2 separate regions of the Homo sapiens genome follow, and region 2 is linked to region 1. Evidence: promoter capture Hi-C in human tissues and cell types (Jung and others, 2019). All regions are on one chromosome and are shown on one strand. The core of a region is centred on a gene start or on the middle of the fragment in contact, and the rest is flanking DNA. Distances in the headings are between cores, read along the strand shown. Region 1 holds the start of NANOGNB (NANOG neighbor homeobox). Region 2 has its middle 8.3 kb from the start of DPPA3.

Region 1 (2,989 bases), core at 292-2,791:
CAGGAGTTCAGGACCAGCCTGGCCAACATGGTGAAACCCCGTCTCTATTAAAAATACAAAAAACTAATCGGACATGTCTTTTGAACCCCGGGAGGGGGAGGTCGCAGTTAGTTGAGATTGTGCCACTCCAGCCTGGGCAACAGAACAAGACTGTGACTCAAGAAACAAAAACAAAAGAAAAGAAATCAAATGGCCAATTTCCCATCCCCATTTTCTTTTAAGGGTATCGTGGTGGTGAGATAGTGGGTTTGTTTTGTTTTGTTTGTTTGCTGTTTTGTTTTGTTGAGACGGAGTCTCACTCTGAAGCCCAGACTGGAGTGCAGTGGCTGGATCTCAGCTCACCACAACCTCTGCCTTCTGGGCTCGAAGGATTCTCTTGCCTCAGCCTCCTGAGTAGCTGGGACTACAGGCGTGCCTCACCAAGCCCGGCTAATTGTTGTATTTTTGGTGGAGATGGGGGGTTTCATCATCTTGGCCAGGATGGTCTTCAACTCCTGAGCTCAAGCGATCTGCCCCGCTTGGCCTCCCAAAGTGCTGGGATTTGAGGTGTGAGCCACTGTGCCTGGCCTGTCCCCATCTTACTTACTTGAATGATCAGGGGCTTCTGAAGTATCGGGATCTCTCTCCACATTGAAAGAGTTTATTCTCCCACTTCCTGAACACCATCCTTTCCTGGGGCTTCCTCAAGTCAATGGCTGCTCTTTCAAAGCTTTCTTTGTTGCTCCTCTTTCCCCTACTGATTTCTGTCCCTGTGCTTTTTCAATCACACTCAAGGTTAAATCCCTTCACCTCTTATCTCCTTTACATGTAGCTCTAATCCAGGTCATCTAATCTCATGGTTTTTAATACTGCCCAAAAGGGAGATTATTTTCAAATTTTTATTTCCAGTCTTCTATGTCAAACTCCCAATTCAATATCTCTGCTTGGATGTCTAATAAGTTATGTGAATTGAACTTAAAATTCCCAAACTCAGTTTATGGCTCCCTTCACTGAACGCTGACCCACTCAGGCCTCTCTATCTTAGTAAAGCCAACTCCATCTGCCCAGTGGTTTGAGTCAAAAAGCTTGGTGCTGTCTTTCACTTCTTCCCTTTCTCATAGCTCAACTCAATCTGTCAGAAAGTCTTGCTTTTCTTTCTTTAAAATATATCCAGACAACTGCCACTTCTTTTTTTTTTTTTTTTTTTTGAGACGGAGTCTCACTCTGTCGCCCAGGCTGGAGTGCAGTGGCGCGATCTCGGCTCACTGCAAGCTCCGCCTCCCGGGTTCACGCCATTCTCCCGCCTCAGCCTCCAGAGTAGCTAGGACTACAGGCGCCCGCCACCACGCCCAGCTAATTTTTTGTATTTTTAGTAGAAACGGGGTTTTACCTTGTTAGCCAAGATGGTCTCGATTTCCTGACCTCGTGATCTGCCCGCCTCGGCCTCCCAAAGTGCTGGGATTACAGGCGTGAGCCACCGCGCCCGGTGCATTGAGGAGTTTTAAAGACCAATTAGTCCTTGGTAGGGAGGTTACAGAGATGACCGACCAGATAAGGTAGATGTCATCCATCTTTTGGATGTCAGTGGGCCACAAATATGAGCACCCAGTGGCAATTCACAAAAGGAATTCCACAAAAAGAACACATTTCCTGACATCTATTTTTGGAGCCATGAAGAAAAAAAACTTTTCAAATAGCCATATGAAAAATGTTCAATTTACATGTTGCAGAGTGTCCCAAATAGTGAGATATACTGATAAGAAAATGCTTTCCAAAATACAGTGGAGAGACAGGAAAAAAAAAATGTAGGGCTGGGCGTGGTGGCTCATGCCTGTAATCCTAGCACTTTGGGAGGTCAAGGCGGGCAGATCATTTAAGATCAGAAGTTCAAGACCAGCCTGACCAACATGGTAAAACTCCATCTCTACTAAAAATACAAAACTTAGCTTGTGTAGAAGTACGTGCTTGTGATCCCAGCTACTTGGAGGCTGAGGCAGGAGAATCGCTTGAACCTAAGAGGCAGAGGTTGCAGTGAGCCAAGATACTGCCACTGCACTCCATTCGGGGACAGACAGTGAGACTCCATGTTAAAAATAAATAAATACATAAATATTTTATGAAAATGCTACTTGGTCGGGTGAGGTGTCTCACATCTGTAATCCTAGTATTTTGGAAGGCCAAGGCAGAAGAATTGTTTGAGCTCAGGAGTTCAAGAACAGCTTGGGCATCACGGTGAGACCCCTGATTCCATTATTATTATTATTATTATTATTATTATTATTATTATTATTTTAATTTTTGAGACGAAGTCTCCTTTCTTGTCCCCCAGGCTGGAGTGCAATGGTGCAATCTTGGCTCACTGCAACCTCCGCCTCCCAGGTTCAAGCGATTCTCCTGCCTCAGCTTCCCGAGTAGCTGGGATTACAGGCACCTGCCACCACGCCCGGGTAATTTTTGTATTTTTAGTGGAGACAGGGTTTCACCATGTTGGCCAGGCTGGCCTCGAATTCCTGACATGAGGTGATCTTCCTGCCTTGGCCTCCCAAAGTGCTGGGATTACAGGTGTGAGCCACCGCTGCCCAGCCCATTTTATTTATTTATTTATTTATTTATTTATTTATTTATTTATTTATTTTTGAGACAGAGTCTTACTCTGTCACCAGGCTGGAGTGCACTTGTGTGATCTCGGCTCACTGCAACCTCCACCTCCCAGTTTCAAGTGATTCTCCTACCTCAGCTCCAAGTAGCTGGGATTACAACCAAGTGCCACTATGCCCAGCTAATTTTTTGTATTTTTAGGAGAGATGAGGGTTTCTCCATGTTGGCCAGGCTGGTTTGGAATTCCTGACCTCAAGCGATCTGCCTGCCTTGGCCTCCCAAAGTACTGGGATCATAGGCATGAACCATCGTGCCTGGCCTCCGACTATACTCTTACCTGGTCACACAACCAGCCTCACACTCTGGTAGAAGAAACCACTTGTTAACCACTTGTTAACCACTTCGTTAATCT
Region 2 (2,989 bases), core at 132-2,631, 45 kb after region 1:
AAATAAATAAATAAATAAATAAATAAGTTGCCTTTTGAACCCCTGGGGTCCTCTAGCCCATTTCCTCCCTTCCTATCCCTTCCTACCCCTTTCCCGCTTCCTATCCCTTCCACATCTTCCCCCCGGCCCCCAACACTACACCTGACTAATTTATTTTTTGTTTGTAGAGACTAGGATCTCACTATGTTGCCAGGCTAGTCTCGAACTCTTGGCCTCAAGCAAATCTCTGGGCTCAGCCACCAAAAGTGCTGAGATTATAGGCATGAGTCACCACATCTGGCCATAAATTTCTTGAATTTTATCCTTCTACTGTGGTTATATAAGTCAATATTCTTGTTCTAAGAAAACACAAACTATTTTGGGATGAAGTGTTATCTGAAATTTACTCTCAAATATCTGTTTAAAAAGAGAAAATATAGAATGTTAAATGAAATGTGGCTAATGCTAACAATTGTTGTATCTAGGTAAAATGTACACACAGGTTTATGAGCTTAAGCTTGCAACTTTATGTAGTTTGAAATTTTTTTAAAAAAAGTTTAAAGTAAAACAAAAAATGTTGAGTGAACAGCAAATAGAGAAATTAACAGCGTTAGCCTGGGCAACACGGTGAAACTCTGTCTCCTCAAACAATACAAAAAATTAGCCGGGCATTGTGGCTCATGCCTGTAGTTCTAGCTACTCAGAAGGCTGAGGTGGGAGGATTGCTTCAGCCCGGGAGGTGGAGTTTGCAGTGAGCCAAGCCTCACTACACTCCCAGCCTGGGCAACTGAGAGAGACCCTGGCTCAAATAAGTAAATATAGAAAAAAAACAACTTTCATATATTACAACCAGTTGAAAAATGTAATGGCAATATTTTAACACACCATAATATAATCTGAAGAGGAAGATATCTGTAGAAAGTACGACTTGGGCCAGGCGCAGTGGCTTACGCCTGTAATCCCAGCACTTTGGGAAGCCGACACGGGGAGAGGTCAGGAGAATTGCTTGAACCCAAGAGGCGGAGGTTGCAGTGAGCCGAGATTGCACCATTGCATTACAGCCTGGGCTACAAGAGCAAAACTCCATCTCAAAAAAAAAAAAAGAAGAAAGTACCGACTTGGCTTAGCTGACTTCCATCTCGGATAAGCCACTTCTTATGTAACTTTGAGCAAGTTCACTACTTTTGTGCTTTTTTTTTTCTGTAAAATGAAGACACCGAAAGTGACCTATCTCAGAAGTTTTGAGGTTTAAATAAGCTAATGCACGTAAAATCCTTAGAATAATGCCTAGCACTCAATAAATGTAAACTGGGAGCATAAAGATTCAGGGCAACTTGAACTGATGCTCTCAGCAGGAAATACATGAAAGGAAGATATTATTATAGAAAGGTTTAAAAATATACCTAAATACTAGCCAGGCGCGGTGTCTCATGCCTATAATCCCAGTACTTTGGGAGGCCAAGGCAGGCAGATTGCCTGAGGTCAGGAGTTCGAGACCAGTCTGGCTAACATGGTGAAACCCTGTCTCTACTAAAAATACAAAAATTAGCTGGGCGTGGTGGCACACGCCTGTAGTCCCAGCTACTTGGGAGTCTGAGGCAGGAGGATCGCTTGAACCTGGGAGGTGGAGGTTGCAGTGAGCAGAGATGGCACCACTGCACTTCAGCATTGGTGACAGAGCGAGACTGCATCTCAAAAGAATACGAAAGGACATGTGACATGTAGAATTAATGTTTTCATTAATTTACAAATTTAACATGATTGCAATAAAAATAAGTTGCCTTTTTTAACTAGTCAGTGATTTTCAAGCTCATACAGAAAAATAATAAAAGTTAGCTTTGCTACTAGGAACGATTTGTAAGTTATAACAAATGCTCTGCCGGGCACAGTGGCTCATGCCTGTAATCCCAGCACTTTGGGAGGCTGAAGTGGGTAGATCATCTGAGGTCAGGAGTTCGATACCACCAACATGGTTAGACCCTATCTGTACTAAAAAATACAAAATTATCTGGGTGTGGTGGCACATGCCTGTAATCCCAGCTACTCAGGAAGCTGAGGCAGGAGAATTGCTTGAATATGGGAGGCAGAGGTTGCAGTGAGCTGATATTGCGCCACTGCCCTCCGGCCTGGGCAACAAGAGTGAAACTCCATCTCAAAAAAAAAAAAAAAAAAAAAAAAAAAGAAATATAACCAATGCTCAATCTGCCCCACATTTGTCCTTGCTGGTAGACCATGTTAAATTTAGTTCTTCAGTGGGGTAACTTCTGATGACCAAACTTGGCAGTGTGGTCCTGCACTCCAGCCTGGGCAACAAAGTGAGACCCCATCTCAAAAAACAAAACAAAAACCACAAAGAAATCACTGGATAGCATCTTCTTGGGTTATTACATATCATGCAGATATCCTTTCCAATTCTCCCTGTGATATTATAAAACATATTTGTTCTTAGTCACCATTTCCTGTCATATAGCTCCTAAAATCTTCAAAATCTCTGGAGTGATAACTTTTGTATGCTAATGGTGACTGCTTTGCTGGGGGCTCCAAGATACCCTCAGGATGTGGGCAGGTTGCCAGGAGAAACCACCAAGTGATTGGAGGGTTGAAAGTTTCACTCCCATTCCGGGACCTCCAGGGGAAGGGACAGGGGCTGAAGGTTGAGTTGATAAACCAATGGCCAGTGATGTAATCAATCATGCCTACCTAATGAAGCTTCCCTAAAAACACAAAAGGAGTTCTGAGGGCTCCTGGACAGTTTCACACTCCTTAAGGGTGGTTCACCCTGCTTGTCTTTTCTCCTATACCTCGCCCTATGCATCTCTTCCATCTGGTTATTCATCTGTATCCTTTGTAATATCCTTCACAATAAGTAAGGTGTTTCCCTGAGTTCTATGAGCCACTAGAGCAAATTAATCAAACTCAAGCAAGGGGTCGAGGGAACCCTGATTTGTAGCTGGTCAGTCAAAAGCACAGGTAAGACAACCTGAAGCTTGTGATTAGCATTAGAAGTGCA

Evidence for each region. The method cuts DNA at HindIII sites, captures the fragments that hold promoters and counts their contacts. A contact is called where the count stands out against the background at its distance.
Region 2: a contact is called between a fragment that was not itself captured here and the fragment with the promoter of NANOGNB in region 1, in 2 of the 25 tissues and cell types used here (psoas muscle and stomach).

What each region holds. Positions count from the first base shown.
Region 1 is chr12:7,763,768-7,766,756 of GRCh38, reverse strand. It overlaps NANOGNB (NANOG neighbor homeobox), which reads right to left and starts at 1,541. Exons shown (of 4, transcript NM_001145465.1): 1 at 1,370-1,541. The coding sequence starts at 1,471. RefSeq lists an enhancer at 1-430. The HindIII fragment of the contact is 16,312 bases long and covers 888-2,989 here.
Region 2 is chr12:7,718,261-7,721,249 of GRCh38, reverse strand. No RefSeq gene overlaps it. Among named protein-coding and RNA genes, the nearest start is that of DPPA3, 8.3 kb to the right of the region's middle. The HindIII fragment of the contact is 6,179 bases long and covers 1-2,989 here.